Linked DNA regions of Homo sapiens: regions 1, 3 and 4 are each linked to region 2. Evidence: promoter capture Hi-C in 16 types of primary human blood cells and fetal thymus (Javierre and others, 2016). All regions are on one chromosome and are shown on one strand. The core of a region is centred on a gene start or on the middle of the fragment in contact, and the rest is flanking DNA. Distances in the headings are between cores, read along the strand shown.

The links. Contacts are between HindIII fragments. The CHiCAGO score rates a contact against its expected background, and 5 or more counts as called.
Region 1: a contact is called between the fragment with the promoter of S100A6 here and the fragment with the promoter of PGLYRP4 in region 2, in 1 of 17 cell types (neutrophils). The highest score is 5.1, in neutrophils.
Region 3: a fragment that was not itself captured here is called in contact with the fragment with the promoter of PGLYRP4 in region 2 in 3 of 17 cell types (neutrophils, monocytes and M1 macrophages); the score reaches 9.0 in neutrophils.
Region 4: a fragment that was not itself captured here is called in contact with the fragment with the promoter of PGLYRP4 in region 2 in 1 of 17 cell types (neutrophils); the score reaches 8.3 in neutrophils.

Annotation. Positions count from the first base shown.
Region 1 is chr1:153,530,396-153,537,608 of GRCh38, forward strand. It overlaps S100A6 (S100 calcium binding protein A6), which reads right to left and starts at 5,596. Exons shown (of 3, transcript NM_014624.4): 1 at 5,554-5,596; 2 at 4,807-4,965; 3 at 4,204-4,435. The coding sequence starts at 4,944. The coding sequence ends at 4,301. S100A5 (S100 calcium binding protein A5) reads right to left here. Exons shown (of 3, transcript NM_001394232.1): 3 at 6,752-7,041. The coding sequence ends at 6,901. It overlaps LOC124904423 (a long non-coding RNA gene), which reads left to right and starts at 3,047. Exons shown (of 2, transcript XR_007066630.1): 1 at 3,047-3,526; 2 at 4,509-7,213. RefSeq lists a cis regulatory region at 1,834-2,161 and enhancers at 3,338-3,632, 5,586-6,221. The HindIII fragment of the contact is 28,060 bases long and covers 1-7,213 here.
Region 2 is chr1:153,347,468-153,354,348 of GRCh38, forward strand. It overlaps PGLYRP4 (peptidoglycan recognition protein 4), which reads right to left and starts at 1,374. Exons shown (of 9, transcript NM_020393.4): 1 at 1,061-1,374; 2 at 417-511. The coding sequence starts at 465. RefSeq lists silencers at 5,209-5,258, 6,284-6,333. The HindIII fragment of the contact is 10,086 bases long and covers 1-5,422 here.
Region 3 is chr1:153,560,471-153,568,108 of GRCh38, forward strand. S100A2 (S100 calcium binding protein A2) reads right to left here and starts at 5,374. Exons shown (of 3, transcript NM_005978.4): 1 at 5,036-5,374; 2 at 3,264-3,417; 3 at 638-1,121. The coding sequence starts at 3,407. The coding sequence ends at 969. RefSeq lists enhancers at 3,731-4,488, 4,489-5,246, 5,366-5,425, 5,399-6,598, 6,296-6,535 and 1 more. The HindIII fragment of the contact is 3,158 bases long and covers 465-3,622 here.
Region 4 is chr1:153,584,384-153,592,136 of GRCh38, forward strand. No RefSeq gene overlaps it. Among named protein-coding and RNA genes, the nearest start is that of S100A2, 22 kb to the left of the region's middle. The HindIII fragment of the contact is 7,242 bases long and covers 1,031-7,753 here.

The sequences.
Region 1 (7,213 bases), core at 4,346-6,845, 190 kb after region 2:
CCAGCAACTCAGGAGGCTGAGGTGGGAGGATTGCTTGACCCTGGGAGGTGGAGGTTGCAGTGAGCCAAGATTGCACTACTGCATTCCAGCCTGGGCAACAGAGCAAGACTCTGTCTCAAAAAGAAAAAAAGCAAATTGATACCTTCTTAATTTTCAATCCTTAAAAGAGTGCAAAAACAAGCCACAAACTAGATGACATTTGCAACATATATAAGGACAAGAGCAAAAATCTTGACCAGAAACTTCACAGAAAGAGAAACTTATGGCCAATAAACATATGAAAAAGTGCTTGGCCGGGCACAGTGGCTCACGCCTGTAATCCCAGCACTTTGGGAGGCCAAGGAGGGCGGATCATGAGGTCAGGAGGTTGAGACCGTGCTGGCTAAGACGGTGAAACCCCGTCTATACTTAAAAAAAAAAAAAAAAGAAAAAGAAAAGAAAAGATGCTCAGAATCATCAGTAATCCTGGAAATACAAATTTTAAAAATCAGTTAACATTTCATACTGGGCACCAAAAAAACTTAGCCCAACAAAAAATAAGGATGTGGAATAAATGGAACATGCAAAGCTGTTATGAGTACAAATTAGTACAATAACCTTGAAAAACAAGGTGGCATTTTCTAGTAAAAATGAAAGTGAGTACTCTACACACCAGCAATTCCACTCATAGGTGCAAACCTCCAGCAACTCTGGTACGTATCCTAGGAGATATCTACAGGAATGGTCACAGAAGCACTGTTTGTAATGGGGAAAATAGAAATAATCCAAAATGATAATTAGCAATAGTCAGGATAAATAATGTTATAGTCATATGATGAACTCTTACATAGCAGTGAAAACTAGCAAACTAGAGCAACTTGGATAAATCTCAAACATAACGTTGAGTGAAAAACAGCCAGTAACAGAAGAATGCACATGGCATTATTCCATTTACATAAAACTCACAATAATGTAAACCCATATATCATTTAGAGATGAAAATACATGTAGTAAAAATTATTAAGAAAGGAAATGACAAATAGTATTACCAGACAGCGGTCCCACTGAGAGGGAAGAAAATGGGATGGGGAAGACAAGTTAGGGAATTAGAAGGTGATGGTAATGTTCACTTGTTATACTGGGTGGATTTTGTGTCATTGTTCTTATATCTTAGATTTAGTCTATAAACAGTTTTATGTATTCCCAATATCTAATTAAAACATTTAAGAGAAAAAGATAAGGAAGAAATGGTCAAAGAATGTCATGAGACAGGCACTAATGAGCTGGCCTGGAATCAGGAGAACTCAGCTCTGCTCGCAGCTCCCTCTTAACTTACAGTCTGACCTGGGTAGAGGCAATGGCTTCCCTGTAGCTCCCTCTTGTCACTTGTCCAGTGGGGTTAATCATATATACTACACAGGCTGAGCACAGCGGCTCACATGGCTCACACCTTAATCCCAGCACTTTGGGAGGCCAAGTGGGGAGGATCACTTGAGGTCAGGAATTCAAGCCCAGCTTGAGCAAAACAGCAAGACCTCATCTCTACAAAAAATAAATTAGCCAGACATGTTGGTGTACACCTGTAGTCCTAGATACTCGGGAGGCTGAGGTGAGAGGATCACTTGAGCCCAGGAGTTGGAGGCTGCAGTGAGCTATGATAGTGTCACTGCACTCTATCCTGGGCAACAGAGAGAGACAGTCTCTAAAAAATTAAAATAAAATAATACATACTACACACAAATCTTCTAAGATGACAAGAGGCAATGGCTATGATAGGTGCCTCACAAAAATGAAGCTGCTATAAAAATGTGGTCCTATACAAAGGTGGTGGCATTATTCTTGACAATTTCCTTTTTGCTTGGCAAAAAACAGAGAGCTACTTCCTGTGACTCAGTCCTAAACCCCCTAACTGGGGCCTGCCCCAGTTTACAGAGATGGTCTGTGGTGCTGCTGTTGCAGCTTCACCAATGTTAGGGTGATTAGATTGTAGGATTAATGTCAGTAATGGGAGGACCTCAACTGAAGGAAGTGGAGAGACTAGAGCCACTCCCACTGCTCAACCTTCAGAGAAGCAAAGTGACCTCTCATGAAGCCCTCAGCTCACATCCTAACTTTTCCCCATCCTGTAAGCCCACACCATACTCAACAGTGAGCTGAAAGGATTCAATTCCAACTTTAAATTGGTCGGAGCAATAAAACGTCCAGTCTATGCACCTCTCCACACCCAATTCCACCATTTGACTGCTGCACCTACCATATTCCATTGTAAATGCTGCTTCCCTCCCCTATCCTGCGAGAAAAAAAAAAAAAACCTAAAAAATTATACCCCTAAAGATTTGCTGTTTGTTTTGTTTTTTGTTTTATTCTTGAAATTCATGTTCCCTTTCCCCTCCACCACTGTGGAGAAGCAGAAACGAAAGGACACGCCTGTTTACTGAGCAGATGGACTGTGCACCTGTGTTGATTCTCCTGCACCGGTGGCCTGCCCACCCACCAGAGCTCCCCAGGAACGCCCGGCAGACGGCCTTGCCTGAGCATCCCCTCCCCGCAGCAGCGGGCTTCCTGTCACTGAAACTCCTCTTCCCTCTCCTCAGGGAGCATTGATTTGTACGAAGGTCTTCTAGCCCTGCAGGTTGGGGAGGGGAGGCGCAGGGTTCCGATTCCATTTGTCTTTACAAAGGGACCGCCTTTCCCTCATGGACTTGCTTATTGTAGGTGTGTCAATTGTGAAGCTGAGTTGCTTAATTCTAGGGCTGATTGCCGGGAGCTAAAGGATCCCCCTACCCTGACATTCCCGGGGCGCCCTATTCTGTCTTCCTCTTCCTAAGGACTCCCCTGACTGCCAGGCCACAGCCCCACGGCGGGCCCCTGCCAGAGGCTCAAGAAAACCAACCCGACTGTCCCCGCAGCGCCCTGCTCTCTGTCCACAGGAGGGCGCTCGCTCCGAACCCCAAGTTGTCAGCCACTGGAAGGCAGGCGGAGAGGGACTGGAAGAAAGGGGGAGGAAAGGGGTGTAGGGCGGGAACCTAGAGGGGCGCGGGAGGGGTTAGGGAGCGCGTACTTTTCCAGAGGGAGCTGAATAGAGCCAAGGCTTGGGCACGGCTGTGCAGAGAGGGAATTCGGCCCCCGGTCTCTTGCAACCAACAGCGCGACTTCTCCCTGCAGGGCAGGGGAGGCAATAGAGAAGGAGGGCCTCCAAGAAGGTGCATCTCCCAGCTGTTTACCAATCCCCACCCAGTGGGGACAGAAGACAACTTAATTCCACAAAGTTGGACCCCCAAGGGAAGTGGGGAGGTGAGAGGGAAAGAAGGATGTGGTCTCCATCTAAAGTCAAGATCTCTTCCCCAGAAGCTAGAGGTAAACTTGCCCAGCTCGGACTAGGCCTAGAGAGGCTGAATGATGTGGCATCACCCGGAAACAGCGTTTACCCTCCTTATCCTCTTCCCTTCTGCCTGAAAACACTAATCCAGATGATGGACAATGATTCAATTAGTCATCTTCTCTGATGGGGGCTGAGATCCAGGCTGGGATCCCGTGGAAGTGCCGGGTGAGTCATTACGCTGAGGCTGCAGGGATACCCCGCCCCATTACTGAACACCCCGTGGTTCACGTGTTGGTGCAGCTGCCAGCTCCTCAGACCACCGTTCCAACAAAAAGCCCTCACCCTGAATGCAGGGACACACTCCAAGAGTGTGCCTCCCCCACTCCACCTGGGACCTGGGCAGCCGCAGTAGACTCAGTCACACAGCGTCCTCACTGGTGTAGGAAACTCCCTGAGCCAAGCCTCAGGCATCTCAGATGTGCCCTATCTAACCCCTGCGCTGTGATGAGAAAGGGGACTTGCCCCACCCCAGGGCCCCTCTTGCCACACCCAGAGCAAAACACATCTGGGAGCCTCTGGGACTATCTCTGCCTCACTTCCAGGCCCCCAAACCCCATCACATCCCGGCCCAGGGACCATTTCCATCTCCAAGCTCATCCCAGGACTCTCTCTACTGGAAACCACTTGAGCCTTTCCTTAGGATGGCGTTGCCAAGAGGGGCATCTCTCCTCATTCACATAAAGGCACCTTATGTGCTAGAGGCAGCCTTGTCAGGGTGGGTCCTCTGGCCTGGCGAGTCAATGAGTCATTTTCAGAGGTTGACCGTGAGCAAATCTTCCAATGGCTGGTGTCCCACTAAGCCAAGGAGGAACAGAAATCATTCGGAAGCCAGGACGCAAGGGTAAATTTGACCAAAAAAAATTTATTGTACAATTACCCACCACTGGATTTGACTCAGAGAGGACCCCCAGAGGGTGTCTCCATCTTCCCTATTTATTTTCAGCCCTTGAGGGCTTCATTGTAGATCAAAGCCAAGGCCCCCAGGAAGGTGACATACTCCTGGAAGTTCACCTCCTGGTCCTTGTTCCGGTCCAAGTCTTCCATCAGCCTTGCAATTTCAGCATCCTGCAGCTTCTAATGTGTTAGAATGTGAAATCCATACTCAGTGGTGATGACAACCCTGGATTCTTCCCCTTCCCCCTCCCAGGCAATCCTCTCTGCAAGTGGCTCTGTGCTCCCTCATCACCAAGGACCCATGTCACTTTGGCATTGCTTCTCCTCAGCTACTTCTCAGTTACTGGTCCTCATTTGGAGAGATGGATATCCGGCTGGAAGCATCCCCTACCCGCTGGGAGAGTGGGTCTACAGCTCAGGGTCTACATGTGGACCAGGGCCTCAGAATGTGGGTAAATGTGAGTCAGATGCACCTGGCACCTCTCTCTCCCCTAATCCTGCTTCCAAAGGACAAGGGTGGGAAAAGGGGTCCTGGGGAGGAGGCCACTCACCGAGCCAATGGTGAGCTCCTTCTGGATCAGCTCCTTCAGCTCCTTCTTGCTCAGGGTGTGCTTGTCACCCTCCCTGCCGGAGTACTTGTGGAAGATGGCCACGAGGAGGCCAATGGCCTGATCCAGGGGGCATGCCATGGCTGAGGGCTGGGCTTGGAGCTGGCAGCAGAGGGCCTAGTCAGTGCCATGGGAGCAAGGACTTCTCACCCACACACCCCAATAATGCTGCCTGCACTAGCCCCGCCTCCTTTGGAACCACCCAGTCTCAGGCCACACACAATGGCATCAGGAGACAGCCCAGGGCTTGAAGGGGAAGGAGAGAGCACACTAGGGCCAAGGCAAGAGAGGTGGCTTAAGGATTCTAAGAAGCATATAGGAACAGTAGCTTTGGGCACAGCTGAGAACTGTCCTTCAGGGGATCCAGAAGTTGAGGAGTATGGCTGGGCAGGGGAGGGGAATGGAGGCTGCAAAGGCAGCTTAAACACAGCTTCACAGGGCCACACATGGTGGCAATGACACACCCAGGGCACTCCCTTCCGCACCCCAAAAGAGCACACCCCATTGCGATCCCTTAGCCCAAGGCCTGCCTGGCACAGCACTGCTGCTCCTGACTATCCCTCCAGCGGGGGAGCGCCACAGATGGCCCCAGTCTGGATCCAGCGGCTGAACTGGGCAGGGGATGGCTGGACCCCCAGCGTGAGGGCAGCTGGCCCTGGAAAGTACCCAGGGCTCCTGGAGAGAACTCACCGGTAGGGAGGCGGCCAAATGCGACGCGAGCGGTCGAGGGGATGGGCTGTGTCGCAGTCCGACTGGCCTTATAGCGGTCGGTGCCCCGGAGGCCAGCTCGGCCAAGCCCACCCCGCCCGCCCAAGTCCCGCCCGCGCCCCACCCTGCGCCGTGGCTTACACAACGCACATTCGCGGTTTACCCCCTCGACTTTCCACGCCTCCTGCCCGGGGCTGTTCCGGGTTAGGACGGGATGGGGGAGCCCAGCAGTGCCCACTGCACGCCTGGTGACGAGTCTCCCCTCATCTGCGCAGCTCAGTTTGCTCAGTTTGCTCTTCGTGACACGTGACTCGGCAAGGGGAGCAGGAGGAGGACTGCGGCGGTCACCCCTGCTTCCTCTGCCAGACCGTGAATGTGACCCTCGAGCCAGCGCAGCGTCAATGTGGGCAAGGAGGGCGCCTCACAGGATGCCGGTGTCCCACAGAGGATACTCAGGGTCACCCCAGAGGAGATAGGGGGAGTAGCCAGTGGTGTAAAGGATATCTACGGCGCCCATCCCCCACCAGCAACAAGTTCCTACCAACACCTCCACTCCTTCCCCTCAGTGCCCCAAATTCCATTCACTACAGCACCTTTGGTGTTAATGTGCATGCACGTGGGAGCCCAGCCCTGTAAGCACCATTCGTTATTTACGGGGGAGTGAAGGCCTTTTCAGACCCTCCCCTGAGAAAAGATTTTGATGGAGGAGGCAGGGAGAGAAGAAAGCACTGTCCCCCATAGATGATGAGAGTGGTGCTATTGAAGGGGAAATGGTGAAGAGGGAGGGGGCTGGTGTGGAGGCCAGACATGCCCTTCCTACAGGTGCTGCCAAGGTGGCCTCCGGTGAGCTGTGGACAAGTCAGGCCTGCCTGCCTATCACCGCCCTCAGGAGCCACTCCCAACCCCTCCCAGTGTCCTCCTCTCAAAGCAACTTTCCCTCTTAACTTCCTCTGCATCCTTGCAGAGTTCCCGCCTGGCCTAACTTCCCCATTTTCCAGGCAGGCAAAACTAAGCCATGACAAAACCAATGACGTCCACACCAAAGAAGGAGAGGAATGCAGTGGGAGCCCAGGACCCTAACCCCCAGAGGCAGAAGCTGTCTCAACCCACTCAAGGAGAGACCCTTCCTGTGCTCCCCTCTCCCCAGGCCAAGGTAGACAAGACAGCTTCAAAACCAGACTCCCAGCACCTGCGATGGAAACTTTATTTCCTCCCATGGAAGGGTCCATCTGGGAGGGAGAGGAGGGCAGGGGGCCAAAGAGGGTCTGTGAGAGGAGCAGCCGAGGTCAGCAGCAAAGGGTGGAGGGTGAGGGTGGAGGGCAGCCCTGGTCACTTGTTGTCCTCTAGAAAGAAGTCGTTGTAGGCCATGCACAGCATGGTCAGGAACACCGAGTACTCCTTGAAGTCGATCTCCTGGTCGCTGTTCTTGTCCAGGCTCTTCATCAAGTCATCGATGCTGCTCTCCTTCATCTTTTGTGGACCCAGGTGGAGAGACAGCTCAGACCCCGCTCCCAGCCCTGCCCTCGCACCACTGCATGGTGTCATCCCCACCCCGAAACTTCAGGGTGAGCCCCAGCTGAGTCAATGACACTGTCAGCATCTCGACCCCCAGAGTCTGCCCACTGCCCACACCTAGGGAAGG
Region 2 (6,881 bases), core at 124-2,623:
CAAGCAATTCTCCTACCTCAGCCTCCCTCCTGAGTAGCTGGAACTAGAGGCATGTGCCACCACACCCAGCTAATTTTTGTATTTTTAGTAGAGACGTGGTTTCACCATGTTGGCCAGGATGGTCTCGATCTCTTAACCTCGTGATCTGCCCACCTAGGCCTCCCAAAGTGCTGGGATTACAAGCATAAGCCACCACCCCTGGCCAAGAGAGAGTAGTTTTTTTTGTTGTTGTTTGTTTGTTTTTGAGACAAGTTCTTCCTCTGTCACTCAGGCTGGAGTGCAGTGGTGGGATCTCGGCTCACTGCAGCCTTGAACTCCTCAGGCTCAGATGGACAGTAGGTATTTTTTAATTCCTATTATGAGACTTTAGGATCACCCTTCTCGGTTGCTTTTTGGCCCAGGGAAAGAAAACTTACCCCAGGCCTGGATACCCAGAGCAGAGAAGACAAGAAGCCACGGCAGCATCCCCACGTGGTCCCAGGACACCAATCTGGAGAGTGTGGATGGCAGCCTGAGAGAGACGCTGACAGTTGTTAACATGACCATTCTCAATCTGCAGAGCATCCCAAACCCTGACTGCAGTGGGTGCCATCTGCCTCCTCTACCATCCTGTGGCCTCCTGAGGGCCAGCACCTGCTTCAGTCTTCTCAGGGCCCCCAGCATACAGCAGGTGCTCAGCATCCCTGTCCTATTATTACCCGAGGAACTCAATTTCATCACGTGCCCACGGCGTGCAAGGCTGTGTACACACTTGCACATGCAGTCTTATTTAATTAGTCCTCACACTAATCCTGTCATGTAAGACTGTTAACCCCCATTTTTACAGACAAAGGAAGTAAGATCCAAGAATGGTACAACCGAGAAATCCAGACTCATATGGATGGGTCTTATGCAGAGAATCCCTTCCCAGCTGGGAATATGCCAGATGAGGGAGATATAGGAGTAGGAGGGGTTCCTAGTTCTAGGGCAGAGGAAATCCAATCCTTAACACTCTTTCTGGTGGATTCCAGTCCCTTTGCTGGAAGAGGGCTTCTGAAGAAGAAACACATACTCAACTCACAGATATCTGTGGGTCCTGTGCTGTCCCAGCCCAGCAGGTCAGGGTGCAGTCAGCTTGCCCCTGATTGGCCAGCAGCTCCTTCCCTTCCAGACTTGGCCTCCAGGCCCTGCCCTTCTTCACCAACTGGCGCCTTCTCCTCCAGCCTTCACTCTCCCTAGCCCTAGAGGGCACTCCCTCCCTGGGAATGGAGCACTCGGGCTCTAGCTTCCCAGAGAGAAGAGAGCCCAGGATCCCTAACAAAAGATGGGGAGAAGGGAAGACAGAGGGCAAGGCTCTGAGCCAGCTCCTTTCACAGCACCTGGAGAAATGCAAGTGGGACCAGACTCAGGCTGAGAGCACCTGGGGACCCGCCCTGTGAATAAGCCCAGGTAGCTCCTCCCTGGGAAAGGGCAAGATTGCCCAACACTCCCGAGAGCTCGTCCTCAGCCCCAACCTGGGAAAGCCTGCAGGGCCTGAGGGTTGTGTCTGCAACATCTAGAAACTTCCTGCCTGTGAAGTTCTGCTCCAGGAGCCTGAAGACTGTGGATTGAAGTCACTCACCAACACCACCTTTTACCAGGGTCATGAGCAGGGTCAGGATGGACAGAGAGAAACTGGGAGGTACAATCTCAGGAAACAGCTCACGATGCCTAATTCTGCCCCAATAGCTTACATGTCTGCCCATCATCCTCCCGCCTGCCACTCCCCACCGTCGGCATCAAGCTGCCACCTACCACAGAAAGCCTCCCACAAACCAAGAATCTCCAGCTCCTCGCCATGTTCCAGTTGTCACCTAATCTCATTCCACATTCTGCAACCTGGACTTACAGCCCTTGAGTCTTCACAGAGGAAACTCTGCATGACACTTTCCAAGAACGCAGTAGGATGCAGTCTCCACGGGGACCTGCAGAGCCTCTCATGTCCCGGAGGGTGGGGCAGCCTCCCTAGACACTTAGGAAGTGCCCTGAATCCAGAACAGTTGCTCTCAGTGAGCTGCAGTCCCACTCTCAGACTGGGCTCCCCAGGAGCGCTCTCTGGATGGGGCCCATTGAGCATGCGCCAGGTCTACCTGGCATTCATCCCAGTCATGCACCCAGACCCAGGCTGGAGCTGTGTGATGAGCAGGGGCTGCTGAGCTCTGTCCTGGGGTGAGGGTGAATGTGGGGCAGAGCCAGAGACAGAGATGAAGGAGACCAAGAACTGCAGCCTGGGACCAGCACTGTAGGGACCCTGGTAGTTTCCCCAGCCTGGCAACATGCTGTTTCTCCATGCCTTTTGCTGGCCGCCCATCCTAAATAAGTAGAACAGTTCTCAAAATGAGAAGGTTTCTGGGCTTGCATCCGGGGCACCAAGGACTTGAGGAGACTCGGTTCCCCTTTTTGGAGCGGCTTGGGGAGGGGAAGCCCAAGAAGAGATTGGGTGGTGGCTGCCAAAGGGGACCAACAGATTCTCTGCCCCATCCAGAGACCAACAGATTCTTGAGGACTAACAGACTGAGGGCTGTCCGGGACGAGGGCATCGGGAGGGAGGAAGAGAGCAGTGTGGGTTGTCCCTCTCTGATTCTGTGAACTCAGAATCCCGAGAGGACCTCCTAAGTCCTAAATTATCTGGCCCCCAGCCCCATCTCACTCCACGCTGCCAGAGCAGGCTCCCAGTGCTCTCTGCCCCACCTCCCACCATCTCAAGACCCTTCCCAAGTGCCCAGCCTCGCTCCCCACCTGCGCCCAGAGGCTCCACTTCAGCCTGGCATCTTTGGAAAGGGCTCCGTGACTAGTTGGGACTGGTAGAGGCTCAGAGTCTCTCTTCTCCATTCTAGCACCTGAATGAATTGTAATTATAATCTCCTCAAGAGCAGTTCCCAAGTCTATCTCTTTACCTGCCTTTAATACTATCATTATTTATATTTACATTTTTTTGTCCTCTGTCTTAAGCCTCCCTCCAGCTGTGAATTTCACAGAAGTGGGAATTTACTTTATTCTGTAGTCTCAGGGTTTAGCTTAGTGTCTGGCATAATGCTGACACATGTTAGAAACTCAATAAGCATTTGTCAGATAAAGAAGGAAGGAAGGGAGGGAGGGAGGGAGGGAGAGAGAGAGAGGGAGAGAGAGAGAAAGAAAGAAAGAAAGGAAAGAAAGAAAGAAAAAAGAAAGAAAGAAAGAGAGAAAGAAAGAAAGAAAGAAAGAAAGAAAAAAGAAAGAAAGAAAGAGAGAAAGAAAGAAAGACTTAAACAGGACACTCTTTTAAAAGGTGTCAAAAGAAGAAATGGAAAGGAAAAGCAAGCCAGCACACCGACCTGCCTCAAATAATGCATACCTTCAAGTACCTAAGGCAGTGGTTCTCAAAAAGTGGCCCAGGGGAAACTGGGGGACCCCAAGACCCCTTGGGGGGGTCCATGAGATCAAAACTAATTCCAGAACAATATTCTCTGAACTTCCCACCACAGGAAACTGCCCACAAACCAAGACTCCCGGCTCCTCACTTTCCTCACTGTGCTGATATTTGCACTGATGACACAAAAACAATGGTAGAAAAAACCGTTAGAGACATGAACCTATGTGTGGCGTCAGACTGCACTAGCAGTCATTGTATTCTTCACAATGTATTCTTTCAAGAAAAGGAGGCTCACTTAGGAATGTTTTTGATGAAGCAGTGAAAATTACTCATTTTATTAAATCTCAACCCTGATTCTCTCAAGGAAAAGCATTTGTGTGCTACAGTTGTGAGCTGAACCAGCCACTTTTCATGGACGCCGTGAACAAATAACATAGAACAAATGATAGCCAAACTATGGATACTCATATTTGGGTATGCGGCATACATTTTCTTGAAAATTAACAAAGTGAGCCTTTCACTTCCGGGAAAACAACTACAATTTGTTAGCATAATAAAATTGGAGCTTTCAGTCAAAAATTTGAATTTTGGAAAATTTGTGTCTGCCACCATGAGTTTGACAGCTTCCCAATATTTGAAGACTACTGACAGGATCAGTGGTGATATTAACAAATGTGGTGGGGCTTTTTTGCTTTTTTTGTTTTGTTTTGTTTTGTTTGTTTTTGAGACGGAATCTATCTCTGTCGCCCAGGCTGGAATTCAGTGGCATGATCTCTGCTCGCTGCAACCTCTGCCTCCCGGGTTCAAGTGATTCTCCTGCCTCAGTGTCCCAAGTAGCTGAGACTACAGGCATGTGCTACCACACATGGCTAATTTTTTGTATTTTTAGTAGAGATGGTGTTTCATAGTGTTAGCCAGGATGGTCTCGATCTCCTGACCTCATGATCTGCCCGCCTCAGCCTCCCAAAGTGCTGGGATTACAGGCGTGAGCCACCACGCCCGGCCAAATGTGGTTTATTTATATGTGTGTGTGATATATATAAATATGTATATATAGAGAGTAATAAATGATGTCAGCATTTAGAAGACGTACATAACTCAGTCAACCAATATTTTCCAAATGATCAATATATGAAGTCACAAAGTTTGGATAAAAGATCCATTAAATTTTAAGAGGGACCAATTGATTCTAATGTAACAGAGAACAAATAATTCATTGATATGGTTTCAGACTTTACGTTGCAACTAACCTTTGAGAAACCATCACTTGTTGGGTTTTGATGTAATATGAGAGAAGAATATCCACAATTATATATTTAAAGGCTATTAATGTATTCATCCCCTTTGCAACTACTTATCTGTGGGAGATTGGATTTTCTTCAAATCTTCAACCAAAGCAACATACAGCAATACCTTGTATGCAGAAGTAGATGTGATAAACCAGCTGTCTTCTTTGAAGCCATACAGTAAAAAGGTCTGCAAAAATGTGAAAAAAAAACACTCTTCTCACTAGCTTTTGACATATATATATAATTATTTTTAATTGTTTAAAAACGTGGTAATACGTAATGTGTTTATTAATGGTACTTTAAGTGAGTTAATAAATCATTTTAAATTTTTTAAACTTTTAATGTAGTAAATACTGATACATCTAATCCACAAAAGCTCTTTGGGATACTCAATAACTTCTATGAATACATATAAAAGGGTCCAGAGAGCAAAAAGATTAAAAACCTGGGGCCAAAGGAATCCCACAGGCTGTCCTGATGCAGATAGGCCACAAGGTGGCAGCATGCGCCCTCTGATAACTCCGGAGTCACCTTTCACTCACTAGGAGTCTCTGAGCAACCTCTTTTATCCATCACTCCCTTCCACTTCCTTCCTTACCTTCATGCTTCTGTGTGGCACGTCTTTTTTTTTTCTAACTAGCTTTATCCACCAACGCCTTCATAATTACAGGGCATAGCCATCTCCTAAGCATAAGTTCTGGCCAAACCAAGCCAGTCATTCATTTTATTCTGCAAACATTTGTCAGGTGTCACTCATATGCAAAGCTTATCATCCAGGGATGAGTACATTGAGAACACTGCTCTCAAGTAGTTAATAATATAATGAGGGAGACAGATCCAAACGCCAGTGATTATAATGCCTGCTGAGTGTGAAAACCCTTTATTCTTTACAAAGGGCTGTGGACTTCAAAGGGAGTCCTGAGAGCAGAGGATGCCAAAAGCCAGATGCTGAGATACTCGCCAAAAATTTCTGCAGAGATCTGGAACCTAGGGACATAGTGAGCGCAAAAGCCAGGTTCCCAAGAGATCGGGGAGGAGAAAGGGTTGGAGCAACAGAAGCCAGGCAACAAAAGGGAATGCCAGCTTTCTCAATTTTGAAGGTGGCATGTCTGAGAAATTAGGAGGATGATGAGCAGAGGCAGCCAAGGTGGAGACAGGGGGAGAGGTCCAGACTTGGGGAAGCTTAGGTTGAATGTCTAAGAAGCCAGATCATTGGAGGGTCCTCACTGTGGATGCTGGAGCAGCCCAGCATGGGGGCAGGGAGTGCGGCTGCTCTCAGCAGAGGGCCTCAGAGACCTCAGGATGGCCAGTCAAGGGAGGCCACAAGGATGCCAGGGGTGGTCAAAGCTTGATGTGGACTGAGCCCAAACGTGGTAGAACAATGGTCTGAAGCTACCCGTGGATAGCTTCTGTAAGTCATCCTAATGCACTAGAGTCTAGAATGAGCACTGGGGAAATGGGGGATGTTAGGGCGCTTGTGGTTAGGAGACCCGTACCCAGAGATCTCCAAGGAAGAGCACTTGGGACTCCCAGCAAGGAGGAAGACAGGGAGTGGAGGAATAGGCAGCAGGCTGTGCGCAGCCTGAGTGGGGCTGGGCCTCAGGCATCAGAGTCCCTGTGAGGAGAGGGACCTGACTTCACCTGCAGGTGGAGCAAGTAAGCCAGGAGACAGTGTCCAGGGGCCATGAGGCTAGTAGTAGTCATGAAGCCCACCAAGAGTCCATCAAAACTTGGAATCTGTGCTAGAAATGACCTAAGGGTCAGCTGTCCCAATCTCCTCATGTAATGGATAAGAAAATGGAGGCCCGAACATGGAAATCACTTCTAAAGACCACCAGCAAGTCTGAGAAAGCTAAGGACTAAAACCAGCTCAGTCCCTCAGTCCGGGTCCCACTGTGTGCCTGCTGTAACACCCCCATTACAACACAGGAGGGGTAAAGCTCCCTGAAAGACCACAGTGGGAGCTGCAGAGAAGGGAAAGACAGACCCGCAGTGGGTCCCAGGCATCTGGGAAAGAGCACAGTGATTTGATGGTAGCTGCAGGAACCTCTGCCTGCTTGTTTGTTTACTTGCTTGGTTGTTTGTTTGTTTGAAATGGAGTCTCACCCTGCCACCCAGGCCAGAGTGCAATGGCGCGATCTTGGCTCACTGCAACCTCTGCCTCCCAGGTTCAAGCGGTTCTCCTACCTCAGCCTCCTGAGTAGCTGGGATTACAGGTGCGC
Region 3 (7,638 bases), core at 794-3,293, 210 kb after region 2:
TCCATTCATTACAGCAGAGCCCTCATGGCCTAATCACCTGTTAATTACTATTGCTTTGGAGATAAAGTTTCCAACACATGAACTTTGGGGAACACATTCAAACCACAGCACTGCCTATGGCCTGTATTCTTTTTTTTTTTTTTTTTTTTTTTTTTTTGAGACACAGTCTTGCTCTGTTGCCCAGGCTGGAGTCCAGTGGCCCAATCTCAGCTCACTATAACCTCCATCTCCCAGGTTCAAGCAATTCTCCAGCGTCAGCCTCCCGAGTAGCTGGGAATACAGGCATGTACCACCACACCCAGCTAAATTTTTTGTATTTTTTGGTAGAGACGGGGTTTCACCATGTTGACCAGGCTGGTCTCGAACTCCTGGCCTCAAGGGATCTGCCTGCCTTGGCCTCCCAACGTGCTGGAATTACAGGTGTGAGCCACCGTGCTCGGTCTAACAAGGAATCTTTTAAATAAAGCTTTGCGGGGTCGATTAGACTAATTCATATCTCTTGAGTAGATCCTGGTACAACTCATTACTTGCAGTATTGAATGTTAAGGTCTGTCCTTTATTCTGAAATTATACCTTTCCTCCTTTATTGGAATTGAAATTTTATCTTTTTATGAAATGATAGTGATGGTGGATGGTATTTGCCTTTTTTAATATCTTTATTTGACAAAATAAAAGTCAGCAACCTATCTCGATTTCCAATTTTTTGCTGGTGTTTGAAATTCCAAAATTGAGACCTAAAGCATAGCTCTGGCCTTGGAGAGATTTCCAGGAGAGTCAGAGCCCAGAAGGGAGCAGGATCCAGGAGGCCCTCATCTCCCAGCACTCCAGCTGAGCCAGCCGGGTTATGGAACATCACTGAGCAATTAAAATATTATCAACAGACAAAAAAAGTTTATTGAATACAAAACTCAAAGGCATCAACAGTCCTGGGCCCAAGAGATCCATGGCAGGAAGTCAAGAGTTCTGCTTCAGGGTCGGTCTGGGCAGCCCTGGAAGAAGTCATTGCACATGACAGTGATGAGTGCCAGGAAAACAGCATACTCCTGGAAGTCCACCTGCTGGTCACTGTTCTCATCCAGGCTGCCCATCAGCTTCTTCAGCCCCTCCTCATCCACTTTCTCCTGAAAGTGACAGGAAATACACTCATCACCAAGCCAGCCCCAACCCCAGCTCCACCAAACACCCAGACCCTCACACATTCAGGTTGGTTCCCAGCTCTCCCTCCCCACTGGGCAGCTGGGTATAAGGTGGGCAGGAGGCCCTGGGAGCTACCAAGAGGGCCCAGTGAGTAAGGAGAGAGACAGATACTCATTGGTGAGCATCTCCAGTGTGCCCTCCTCCTGGACACAGGGAGGACACTGGATGCTCCTCTGAGCATGCATCAGCTCGAATCCCACAGGAGCCCAGCGAGGTAGGTATCATCACCCCATTCTGCTGATGAGGAAACCGAAGGTTGCTGCTCCCCAACACCAGCCAGGTAGATTCAGAAAAGAACACTTTTTATTTTTTAAGACAAGGTCTTGCTCTGTTGCCCAGGCTGGAGTGCAGTGGCACAATCACAACTCACTGCAGCCTCAACCTCCTGGGCTCCAGCAATCCTCCCACCTCAGCCTCCCAAGTAGCTGGGACCACAGGCTCATGCCACCACACCCAGCTAATTGTTTATTTTTAGTAGAGACAAGGCCTCGCTATGTTGCCTAGGCTGGTCTTGGCAACCAGAGTGATCTCACTTTGTCACCCAGGCTGTATTATAGCTCACTGTAACCTTGAACTCCTGGGCTCAAGCAATCCACCCAAGTAGCTGGGACTACAAGCGTATGCCACCATGCCTGGCCAATTTTTATTTTTATTTTTGTAGAGATGGAGTCTTGCTATGTTGCCCAGGCTGGTCGAACTCCTGGGCTTAAGAGATCCTCCTGCCTTAGCCTCCCACACTGTGGGGATTACAGGCATAGGCCACTGCACCCAGCTGAAAAACACTTTTTTAATACTAGCCGAAATAATTAGAAAAATTTAACCAGCCACAAAAACAAAATTAAAAAAAGGAAAGAAGGACCTGCCTCATGTGTTCAAAGCCTGACACCTAACTTTGGGAATCACCAATGAGTCAGTATAGGGAGGGTGAGGGACAAATTGAAGGTCGATGCATTTCTCCACAAAATGTCCCAGACTATATATCTTAGCTGGGCTTTTCTATCCCTACATACTTTCTTAGTTTGGCATATAAAAATGGAAAGAGGTCAAGCACAGTGCCTCACATCTGTAATTCCAATACTTTGGGAGGCCGAGGTGGGAGGATTGCTTGAACCCAGGAGTTCAAGCCCAGCCTGGACAACATAGCAAGACTCCATCTCTACAAAAATAAAAATTGGCCAGGCATGGTGACAATACTCCTGTAGTTCCAACTACTTGGGAGGATTGCTTGAGCCCAGGAGTTCGAGATTACAGTGAGCTATGATCCAGCCTGGGTGACAGAGTGAGATCTTGTCCCCCCACCACAAAAAAAAAAAAAAAAAAAGGAGTCCGGGCACGGTGGCTCACGCCTGTAAGCCCAGCACTTTCAGAGGCCGAGGAGGGCAGATCACCTGAGGTCAGGAGTTCGAGACCAGCCTGACCAATATGATGAAACCCCGTCTCTACTAAAAATACAAAAATCACTTTGGGAAGCCGAGGCAGGTAGATCACGAGGTCAGGAGTTCGAGACCAGCCTGGCCAATATGGTGAAACCCTGTCTCTACTAAAAATACAAAAATTAGCTGGGCGTAGTGGGATGCGCCTGTAGTCCCAGCTACTCAGGAGGCTGAGACAGGAGAATTGCTTGACCCCTGGAGGCAGAGGTTGCAGTGAGCCGAGATCGTGCCATTGCACTCCAGCCTGGGCAACAAGAGGGAAACTCCATCTCAAAAAAAAAAAAAAGAAAAGAAAAGAGAGAGAGAGAACGTGCCAGTGCTGTGTGATCTTGGGACAATCACTTTTCCCTTCTGGGCTCTGGTTTCTCAAGTCTCCAATGACAGGATTAAACAGATGGACTCGGAAGGCCCTCACAGCACATGGTTCTCTGGAATGCTGCAGGAAACAGCCATTAATTAAGCACTCCCACTCGGGCCTCATTTCCACTCCAGTGGAGCCATGAAGCTAAAGTGGGGAGGGGGCTGGGCCCCACCCTGGCACCTGCATCGACAGGCACCCGGAACTGGGGGAGAGATTTAACCTGCACCCCCACACTCACACCAGGACCTCCCCCACAGGCCTGTGCCACTCACCCCCACAAAGCTGGGCAGCTCCTTGTGCAGAAGTTCCTTCATTTCCCCCTTACTCAGCTTGAACTTGTCGCCCTCTTGGCAGGAGTACTTGTGGAAGGTAGTGACCAGCACAGCCAGCGCCTGCTCCAGAGAACTGCACATCATGGATCTGTGGCTGCAGAGGTGCCAGGTGATGGGTACACTGCTGAGGCTCTTGGGGCCTTAGCTCAGCCTGTAGGATCCACTTCTGCCCTATGCCCCCAAGCCACCTCACAAAACCCCTCTCTGAATGGGAAGGCAGGGGCTGCATCTCCCCCTCAGACTGTGGTTCCCTGAGGCCGGAGGCGATACCTCCATCTCACCCTGAGGGCAGACGCTAAAGCTTCCCTTGTGTCTGGGAGTCACCAAGCCTCCTCTGATGGCACTTGGGACACCCCCCTGAGGGCAGGGCTCCCCATTTTAGTGTCTGCCAGAAGGGAAATGACAGGGTGACCAGAGTCCCATTTTGATGGCATCTGCGCAGGCTCTGGGGAGCAGGGCCACATGCACCGGCTGGCAGATGGGGGCTCCTGTGCAGTCTGGCAGGAGCCATGGCTACAGCCTAGGAGCAGGAAGCTCCCTGAAGGAGTCGTTTCCCTCCTTAGACTCGGGACTCCTGAAGCCAGAGGCATCTCTCTCTGCCATCTAACTGGAAGCTCCCTTGGGCAGGAGTGTTTCCTCTCTCAGACTAGGAGCTCCCAGAGGGTGGGGAATGTGTCTCCCCTCACCCTGAAGGCCCCTGAGCCTCTAGGCAGACAGGGGCATGGATAGGGTGGGGGCAACTTAACATTCTCTCCACCAGGAAGGATCCTGTTGGAATTAGAATTAAAGATATGAAATGTTCATTGCCTTGGGATCAGGATGGGACAGACCTCAGCGGCAAGGCCTCTGAGAATACTCAGACCAGCCTGGAAAGGTTAGGCAGGTTTCAGGGTGAGGCCAGAGGAGCTATGCCAGAGGCAGGGCATGCCCTGGGCCCATCATGCCAGCCCTGCCTTCACCGAGGCAGGGGGCAGAGCTTTGCTGCTTGGGGCCATGACCCAGGCAGAGTCTTGAGACCCCTGCCTCTTGCACCTTAGTCCTGCTAGAATCCAGGACTTTGCAAAAAAAAAAAAAAATCTCAGGATTCTTTTTGCAGCAACGCCCACATGCACACCTCCTGCTCCTAGGCCTAGACCCCCAAAGAAGGGCCCCTAGACTGAGATATCCAGGGGAGGGCCTCAGAGCAACCCCTGCACTGAGACCTCACAGAGGAACCTGGAGAAAAACCCTTCAGTCGGCCGGGCGCGGTGGCTTACTCCTGTAATCCCAGCACTTTGGGAGGCCGAGATGGGTGGATCACGAGATCAGGAGATCGAGACCATCCTGGCTAACATGGTGAAACCCCATCTCTACTAAAAATACAAAAAAATTAGCCGGGCATGGTGGTGGGCGCCTGCAGTCCCAGCTACTCGGGAGGCTGAGGCAGGAGAATGGCGTGAACCTGGGAGGGGGAGTTTGCAGTGAGCTGAGATCACACCACTGTACTCCAGCCTGGGCGACAGAGCGAGACTCCATCTCAAAAAAAAAAAAAAAAAAAAAAAACCCTTCAGTCAACACTTCAGCACTTCACAGAGAGTTCTTCCAAGGGGGAAGGCCCAGAGAGGCCCAGGTTGATCCCACCAGGGAAGCTGGAATGAGAGAACTGTGGAGACAAAGACAGAGACCCACGGGGATCCTCCCCACCCTGCCCTCAGCAGGACAGAGGTACTCACCAGACCAGGTGGCAGAGACAGACCCAGGAAGGAGAGCAAGGCAGCCAGGCTCCCAGGGTGAGGATTTATATGTGGGCCCCACTGGCCCCCAACTTGGCATTTTAAGGAAACCAAACCTGCCTCAACCTGATCCCACCAAACCCTGGCCTCTTGCCATTCCCACTCATTCCCTCCCAGCCCCCTCCCTCCCAGAGAGTGCCAGCTCCACCACCAGCTGGGGGAGGGCTCTAGGCCAGGTCAAGGGCAGCCCCTGAGCCCACCCAGGCCACAGTGGGAAGTGGGAGGTGTCGTGGGGACTGGGCATCCTGGACCGGGGTGAGGGGAGGCAACCCCTGCTCTGGGGCCTGGAGACTGGTGCCAGGCCTCATTCTCATGACATGCCTGTGAGTCACAGCCCACTCCTGTGTGAGAGGCTGTGAGCACACGCTGAGACTTCATGGTCCAGTGCTCGTGTACATACATGCGCCCGTGTGTGTGAGAGAGAAGCAACCTGGGGCCACCCTTAGGAAGCTGGGGGCCAGAGGAGGCAGCTGGGGGACATCAGGAGGAGAAGGACAGGACTGACTTCAGGGCATGGATGAAGTGGAGTGACTTTTAATGGCCAGCACCAGAATACCTCTTAATGAGGTAATGAGGTAACTAAGTGTGCTTAGAAATACCTGGGAAGGTCCCTCTGTGTAGGAAGGTGTCTGGAAGGATGGGGAAGCAGTGAGAAATGGGGTTGCTCTACACACAGCCGCAGTTGGGCTGGGCCACAGTCTGTGGGGAGCATAAGGAAGTCCCGAGTAGTTAAAGGCTGAACAGGAAAACTTTGGCCTCCTCTTCTCCAGCTTGAGGGCTGGGTGGGTGGGTAGGGGTACATCCCTACCCAAGGCTGAAAACACCAGCTGGACAGCTTCCCAAGCCAGAATCCAGGCCTGAAGCACAGCCCTCAGCCACAGCCCTCTCTCACTGCCCCCCACACACATGTCCTCCCCAGACCCGGAGAAAGGCAAACACTGTGGCCATTCAGAGCCCAGCCCAAGGGAGGGCTGCCCCCTCCCAGGGCCCCTTCCTCCTTGGCCCTTTGTCTATCCCGGCCCGTCTGGGCATCAGGGCACCGCCCTTCCTGTGGCCCCAGCTCCCCTCCCTGCTCCAGCTGTCGAGTAGCTTCTTCCCCTCCCCCAGCCCCTCTACCTCAGCCCTAAGTGACTCACCCGAGGTTCCAGGCCCAGATGCCCAGGCAGTGACTCAGCGGCACACCCTCCTCCCCCAGGGCCAGGGCAGCAGCAGTCCCAGAGCAGTAGGTGGAAGCCCCAGCCCAGCCTGGCAGGGAAAGCACTGGCACAGAGACCCCAAACAGGCCCTGCCAGGAGGAGCTTTGGATAATGACATGGCAGGAGGATCAGACTGAGAACAGGCTGGTCCCTTCCTAGCGGTCACCGTGTGACTTGGGGGCCAGCCTGAGCAGTGTACATGAAGTCAGGCCTTGGGGCCCCCAGTGTCCTCTTCTACACCTTGGCACAGCCACCGAGTGTCCCTTGCTCCCCTCAGTACTTGAACCCCTCATGCTACTTGTCTTCCCATCGAGGCCTACTTCAAGTAGAACTCGGAATAAAAACCCTTCACACTGAGGGTGAGGGACAAGGGAGCGCAATGCATCGATTTTCACAGCCATTCTTTCCTTTTAACTAAGGGCCTCCACAGGGCCTTCCCTGCTCAGAAACTGCAGTGCATCCCCATGGCTGTCCCTTAAAGCCAGGCGGTATGTTCTCACTCATAAGTGGGAGTTGAACAATGAGAACATATGGACACAGGGAAGGGAACACCACATACCAGGGCCTGTGGGCAGTTGCGGGGAGAAGGATGGGGGCAAGGGGAGGGAGAGCATTAGGACTAATACCTGATGCATGCGGGGCTTAAAACCTAGATGATGGGTTGATAGGTGCAGCAAACCACCATGGCACATGTATACCTATGTAACAAACCACATTCTGCACATGTATGCCAGAACTTAAAGTAAAAATAAAATAAAATTAAATTAAAATTAAAAATTTTTAAAAAGCCTGGCAGTGAGGCGCTCCAGACTCGGCCTGCTGCTGCGTGTCCCTTAAACACACCGGCACATGCAACTAGTGTGGCCAAGACCCTCGGCTTGCGCTGACCCCTCTGTTCAGAACGTGCCCACACATGCCCATGCCCTCTATCCTGCTGAAATCCAACCCCCCCTTCAAAGGCCACTGCAGGGAGCCTTCCCAGGGCCCAACCGGATTCAGTGTCTACCTGTTCTGTCCTGTACAAAGCGCCCCTTTTGCCCTTTTCGTGTGTACTTAGAGAATTCTGATTTTGACTGAATCACCTGTGTACTTGTTTTCTCTCAGCCTCACCCCCACATGGTGAGCTCACCGGTCTTACTCATTTCTGCATGAGGTAAGGGTCTCGCCCACACCAGGTGCCAACCAGTGCTTACGGCTACCACATGGCAACAGGGGTCACTGGAGGAGTGCTTAGGAGCAAGGGAGTCCTTCTCACCCCGTGAAATCACACCACTGACTATGCTACGAAATAATCACCTCTCCTCTGGATCCCAAGAGTGGAACCGAGACAACGGGTCGGAAAAGAGC
Region 4 (7,753 bases), core at 3,402-5,901, 240 kb after region 2:
ACGTCACCACTATTTTTGGTATCCGTTACATACAGCCAAACCCATGTACCAAGCAGATCATCCTACATACCAACACCAGAAATGTATCGTATGAGAAAGGAAAATTGAGACCCAATCTCACTTATGATTATAGATGCAAAATCCTAAATAAACTGTTAGCAAATGGAATCAAGTATTATACTTAAGAAAAATTATGACTAAGTTGGGTTTATGTCATGATTGCAGGGATGACTTTAACATTAGAAAATACATTAATGTAAGTCTCCACATTAAGAGATTAAAAATTAAAACCATATGATGATGCCAGAATAAATTCAATACCCATTTATAATAATAACGCTTAATAATCTAGGAATAGAAAGGAACATCTTGACCAACAAGCAAAAACCTACTGCAATCTTATTTTTTTTTTTTTAGTGGGGTTTCACCACGTTGCCCTCACTGGTCTCAAACTCCTGAGCTCAAAGGATCCACCTACCTCGGCCTCCCAAAGTGCTGGAATTACAGGCATGAGCCACCACACCCAGCCTGCAATCTTATTCTTAACATTAAATTATTCTTAACAGTAAATGAATGAACAGTAAATGCTTTAAAATTGTTCCTGTTAAAGTCAAACACAAGGAAAGGATTCTTGCTATTATCACTTTATTCAACATTAATTTGAAGGTTCTGACCATTACACTAAGGAAAACATTTTTTCAAGGTCTAAGGATTGGAAAAAAACAAGGATATGATACAATTGCCTCCAGAGAAGAAACAAGCAGGGCAAAACACAAGGCCTATCAGGATAAAAAGCTGATGCAAGTAAGTCGGGGGCTGATCTGAGGCAACAAGCTTCCTCCCACTGCAAATCCACAGAGCTGGAGGTTTAAATCCAGGGAGACTGCCTTTTCCCAGAGCTGCTTTTTATTTTTTTATTTTTTTATTTTTTTTCCACATGTATGAGTGAATATTTTATTTTTTTATTTTGTATATATATAGATAGATTTTTATTATACTTTAAGTTCCAGGGTACATGTGCACAACATAAAGCTTAAAGGCAAATTCCCATCCAGGATGTTGCCCAGCGGAATGACCGCAAACAAAATGGTGACACTAGTTCTGCAGTGCCTTTGGCTGTCCACACTGAGGATTTCCCCCAATACCTCCAGATGCAGTAGCTGAGAACAACCCCCACTCCAGCCCAGGAAACACAGGCTCACAAGCCAAAATCACCAGAACCTGAGATGTACAGAAATTGTAACAAAATACCCCCCAAAAAGACCAACATGAACCATTTGAAGCATAGTTATTGAAACTGGTAGACCAAAAAGTTAAATTAAGGTAATAAAATCCTCAAAAAGATAAAGGAGAGATTAGTGATAGAAATAAAAACAAGAAGTCATAAAAAAATAACTGTCCAGGCGCAGTGGCTCACGCCTGTAATCCCCGCACTTTGGGAGGCAGAGGCGGGCAGATCACAAGGTCAAGAGATCAAGACCATTCTAGCCAACATGGTGAAACCCCGTCTCTACTAAAAATGCAAAAATTAGCCGGGTGTGGTGGTGTGAGCCTGTAATCCCAGCTACTCAGGAGGCTGAGGCAGGAGAATTGCTTGAACCCAGGAGGCAGAGGTTGCAATGCACCAAGATCGTGCCACTGCACTCCAGCCTGGGTGACAGAGTGTCAATAAAATAATAATAAAATAAAATAAAGAGCATAATCATTGGGAAAAATAAAAGATGGCTACAACTGGAGAATAAATGGATGAGCTAAATGATCAGACTGAGAAACTCTCCCAGAAGGCAGAAGTAGAGAACAAAGAGAATATTTTTAAAGGAGCTAAGTGCTATGGAGAATAGAAGTAGAGTGCTCATATCAGGATAACAGGATTCCCCAGACAGGGAATTAAAAAAAAAAAAAACAGAGAGGAGGAAATAATGAAGTAATAACATTGAAACACTTCTGAGAATTAGAGAAAAAGATCTCAGATAGAAAGGGCTCATAGAATGCTAAATAGGGTAACTGAGGAAAAAAACACATTTAGACTCATATTGAAGTGGAAGAAGATCAAATTCAATTAAAACTCTGAACATTTCCAAAAGCAATAGATTGCCTACAAAGGAATTGAGAAGTAGGTCCGTTGTGCACTGGTTTCAACCTGTCTGAGTCAAGTTAAACAGACACACACAGACACACTCAAGTTACATGAAGCAGGTTTATTACTTACAGATTGAAAGCAGGGGACAACAGAAGCCTCAGATTCATGGCAGGCTGGTACCCCAAGGCTCAGAAAAGCTGCCCAGGAACTACCAGTCATACTGGATTAGAAAAAGAGGAAAAAAAGAAAAAAGAAAAGCTGCCCAGGGCAGATGGAGTCTCAGTTACATGTGCCCCACTTGCATCTCAGCTGAGGGACTCCAAAAAGCATCCTAAGGCTGGGCATGGTGGCTCACGCCTGTAATCCCAGCACTTTAAGAAACTGAGGCAGGAGGATTGCTTGAGGCCAGCAGTTTGAGACCAGCCTGGGGAATATAATGAGACTCCATCTCTAGAAAATAAAAAACAGGCCAGGCGCGGTGGCTCATGCCTGTAATCCCTGTAATCCAACACTTTGGGAGGCCAAGGCAGGCGGATCACCTGAGGTCAGGAGTTTGAGACCAGCCTGGCCAACATGGTGATACTCCCATCTCTACTAAAAATACAAAAAAATTAGCTCGATGTGGTGGTGGGCACCTGTGATCCCAGCTACTTGGGAGGCTGGGGCACAAGAATCGCTTGAACACGGGAGACAGAGGTTTTAGTGAGCAGAGATCGGGCCACTGCACTCCAGCCTGGGCAACAGAGTGAGACTCCGTCTCAAAAAAAAAAGAAAAGGAAAAAGAAAAAAATCAGCTGGGCATGGTGGCACACACCTGTACCCCCAGCTACTTGGGGGACTGAGGAGAACAGATTTCTTGAGCCCAGGAGTTCAAGGCTGCATGAGCCGTGATTATGCCACTGCACTCCAGCCTGGACCACAGAGCGAGACCCTGTCTCAAAAAACAAAACAAAAAAAGCAGCCTGCCCTGGATTTACACCCCTGGGGCAATGTGACATGCTTGGCTAATGAGTTGAAGGACATCCTGTTTCTAGGGGTTACTGGAACGGGGCCCAGGCTGTTCACCAGTCCCTCTTTATCTCGGGATGTTGTATCTCAGCCCATTCTACAGTTATTCCTGAGAGCTCCAAGTGATAAAGGGGAGATAACTGGATAAGGCCAAGGCCATGGGGAGAACTGTCCTGCAGGAACACGAATCAAATTGACATCAGACTTCTCAATAGAAACACTGAATACAAGAAAGTGGCAAGGTTTGTAAGTACTGAAAGAAATTTTAGGCTAGGTGCAGTGGCTCACCCAGTTAATCCCAGCACTTTGGGAGGCTGAGGTGGGAGGTTCACCTGAGGTCCAGACCAGCCTAGCCAACACATTGAAACCCCATCTGTACTAAAAATACAAAAATTAGCCGGACGTGGTGACATGCCCCTGTAATCCCTAACTACTCAGGAGGCTGAGGCACAAGAATTTCTTGAGCCTAGGAGCCTAAGGTTGCAGTGAACCAAAATTGCGCCATTGCACTCCAGCCTGGGAGACAGAGCAAGATTCTATCTCAAAAAAAAAAAGAGAGAGAGAGAGAGAGAGAAAGAAAGAAAAAAAAATTCTGTGTAGCCAAATAGTCATTCAAATTTGAAAATATAGTAAAAAATATTCTCGGCCAGGCGTGGTGGCTCATGCCTGTAATCTCAGCACTTTCAGAAGCCGAGGCGGGCAGATCACCTGAGGTCAGGAGTTACAGACTAGCCAGACTAGCCTGGCCAACATGATGAAACCCCATCTCTACTAAAAATACAAAAATTAGTCGGGCATGGTGGCGCGTGCCTGTGGTCCTAGCTACTCAGAAGGCTGAGGCAGGAGAATTGCTTGAACCCGGGGAGGCAGAGGCTGCAGTGAGCTGAGATTGCGCCACTGCACTCCAGCCTGGGTGACAGAGCAAGACTCTGTCTCAAAAACAAAAAAAAAATTATCGCATTACAAAAGCCTCAGAATGTTTGTCACACAAAGACCTACATTTACAGTTCTCAAAGTATCCAAATAAGAAGAGAAATAAGTTCAAGAGGATAGGATGATGCCTGCAATATAGGAAATAAACATGATTAAATGACATAATAAAATTGAATATCAACAAAAGCTAAAAGGGGGAGAGAGTCTGAGAAAGAAGAGGTGGAGGAGAGTGAGAGATAATCAGAATGGAATGATTGGTTGGAGAGTAGAGTCTCTAGTTACTGTGTCATATATTTGCAGCTGGACTCCGTCCCATAGATGAGCTGAAGCAAAAGGACCTTCACACAGAACTTTTATCATCAGCCTGAGGAAAAGTACTCGAAGGACAAGGCCATTGGTTGGGAACTTACACCAAAAAAAAAAAAAGAAAAAAAACCTGAATTATAGATACTATGAATATGATGAAAATAAGCAGAACGGACCGGGTGCAGTGGCTCACACCTGTAATCCCAGCACTTTGGGAGGCCGAGGCAGACAGATCACCCGAGGTCAGGAGTTCGAGACCAGCCTGGCCAACCATGGCCAACATGGTGAAGCCCCGTCTCTACTAAAAATACAAAAATTAGCCAAGCACAGTGGCGCACACCTGTAATCCCAGCTACTCGGGAAGCTGAGGCAGAATTGCTTGAACCCAGGAGGCAGAGGTTGCAATGAGCCAAGATCGTACCACTGCACTTCAGCCTGGGAGACAGTGCAAGACCCCATCTCAAAAAAAAAAAAAGAGGAAGGAAAAGACAAGACTGATGGGATAGGAGGGTGTGAAAGGAACTTTATTATTAGGAAGAATATAAATAATTAAAAATTATTCAATGAAGTAGCATAAAGTCAAATTAAAGCAACTACATTAACAAGAAAATAGAATGTATAGTTTTCAAAACATGAGAAGAATGTTGGCTCTATGTAATGGAAAGTAACAAAGGTGGGGAAAGAAACAACAAAGAAGGCACAGTACATGAAAAATATAAAATTAAATGGCAGAATAAGTCCTAATATTATAGTAATTGTAATAAAGATGGGTAAAGTAAACACACTTCTTAAAAGACAAACGTTCCTGGGTTGAGTTTCTTCCTTAAGGTTCAGCAATATGTTGCATACAAGAGAAACACTGAAAATAAAAAAACTTTATCACGGGCTGGGCGCAGTGGCTTATGCCTATAATCCCACCACTTTGGGAAGCCAAGGCAGGCGGTTCACCTGAGGTCAGGAGTTCGAGACCAGCCTGACCAACATGGAGAAACCTCATCTCTACTAAAAATACAAAAAAATTAGCCAGGCGTGGTAGCACATGCCTATAATCCCAGCCGCTCGGGAGGCTGAGGCAGGAGAATCGCTTGAATCTAGGAGGTGGAGGTTGCAGTGAGCCAAGATCACACCATTGCACTCCAGCCTGGGCAACAAGAGTGAAACTCCATCTGAAAAAAAATAAAAAACCATTTCAAATATTTAAACAAGAAAATAGAAGGAATAAACAAAAGGAAGAAAATACATGAAGCAAATATAAACCAAAAAAAAATCAGGGAAGTAATTTTAATATTTGACAAAAGAGGATACAAGAGGAAAAATATAAAAGACAAAGAATGAGGTAATACAAGAAAATACAAACACCAGGAACATAAAAGCACCTACTCATATAGCCTCAAAATATATAAAACAACAACTGATAAAATTTCTGAGGCTGGGTGTGGTGGCTCATGCCTATAATCCCAGCATTTAGAGAGGCCAGGGTGGGAGGACTGCTTGAGCCCAGGAGTTCCAAGACCAGCCTGGGCAGAATAGTGGGACCTCATCGCTATTAAAAAATAATAATAATTAATTAAAAATTAAAAAGAAAAAATGTTTTTTGGAAGAAATAGATTAATTATGGTTAGAGATTTTTTACACACCTTTCTCTGAAACTGGTTGATCAAGGAGACAAAAATAAGCAGAGGTATAAAATAGCTGTATAATATCATTGGTAAATTCAAGCTATTGGGCTGGCCATGGTGGCTCATTCCTGTAATCCCAGAACTTTGGAGGGCCAAGATGGGTGGATCACCTGAGGTCAGGAGTTCCAGACCAGCCTGGCCAACATGGCAAAACCCCATCTCAACTAAAAATACAAAAATTAGTTGGGCATGGTGGTGGGCACCTGTAGTCCCAGCTACTAGGGAGGCTGAGGCAGGAGGATCACTTGAACCCAGGAGGCAGAGGTTGCAGTGAGCCGAGATCACACCACCACACTCCAGCCTGGGCAACAGAGCGAGACTCCACCTCAACAACAACAACAAAAAATTTAAGCTATTGGTGTATATAGAATTTCACACCCAACAAAGAGAAAATACATAATCTTTTCTAGCATGTATGTATCACGTAATATTGAATATGTTGGATGCTATAAAGAAAGCCTTGAAAAATTTCAGAGACTCACTATTATCAGATTAAGGCCAGATGTGTTGGCTCACACCTATAATCCCAGCACTTTGGGAAGCTGAAGCAGGAGGATCGCTTGAGCCCAGGAATTCGAGGCTGCAGTGAGTTATGATTGTGCCATTGCACTCCAGCCTGGGCAACAGAGCAAAACGCTGTCTCAAAAAAAAAAAAAAAAAAAAAAAAAAGGGCCACCTGTAATCCCACCACTTTGGGAGCCCAAGGAGGGCAAATCACAAGGTCAGGAGATCAAGACCATCCTGGCTAACACGGTGAAACCCTGTCTCTACTAAAATTAGCCGGGTGTGGTGGCAGGCGCCTGTAGTCCCACCTACTCAGGAGGCTGAGGCAGGAGAATGGCATAAACCTGGGAGGTGGAGCTTGCAGTGAGCTGCCATCACGCCACTGCATTCCAGCCTAGGCGACAGAGCGAGACTCCATCTCAAAAAAAAAAAAAAAAGTTTGCAATATTATACAGATTATGTTTTTCTGACTGCAATGCAACAAAATTTTTAAATTAATAGATAATAACGGCCAAGTGCGGTGGCTCACGCCTGTAATCTCAGCACTTTGATAGGCCGAGGCTGGCAGATCACCTGAGGTCAGAAGTTCAAGACCAGCCTGGCCAACATGGTGAAACCCTGTCTCTACTAAATATACAAAAAATTAGCTGGGCATGGTGGTGAGCGCCAGTAATCCCAGCTACTCAGGAGGCTGAGGCAAGAGAATCGCTTGAACCTGGGAGGCAGAGGTAGCAGTGAGCCAAGATCGAGCCATTGCACTCCAGCCTGGGCAACAGGGCAAGAGTCCGTCTCAAACAAACAAAAATAGATAATAAAATAGTTTTAAAATAAATCACCCAAAAAACTGAAAACAGCCCAATGTCCATCAATAGGACTATAGATAAATAGGGTATTTTCATACAATGAAATATGATAGAGTAGTAAAAATGAATGAACTCCATCAATATAAATCTTAAAATAAATCTCTTATTTTATCTGGGCACGGTGGCTGACACCTGTAATCCCAGCACTTTGGGAGGCCAAGGTGGGTGGATCACCTGAGGTCAGGAGTTCAAGACCAGCCTAACCAACATGGAGAAACCCCGTCTCTACTAAAAATACAAAATTAGCTGGGCGTGGTGGTGCAGGCCTGTAATCCCAGCTACTCAGGAGGCTTAGGCAGGAGAATCGCTTGAACCTAGGAGGCAGAGGTTGCAGTGAGCCCAGATTGAGCCATTGCGCTCCAGCCTAGGCAACGAGAGTG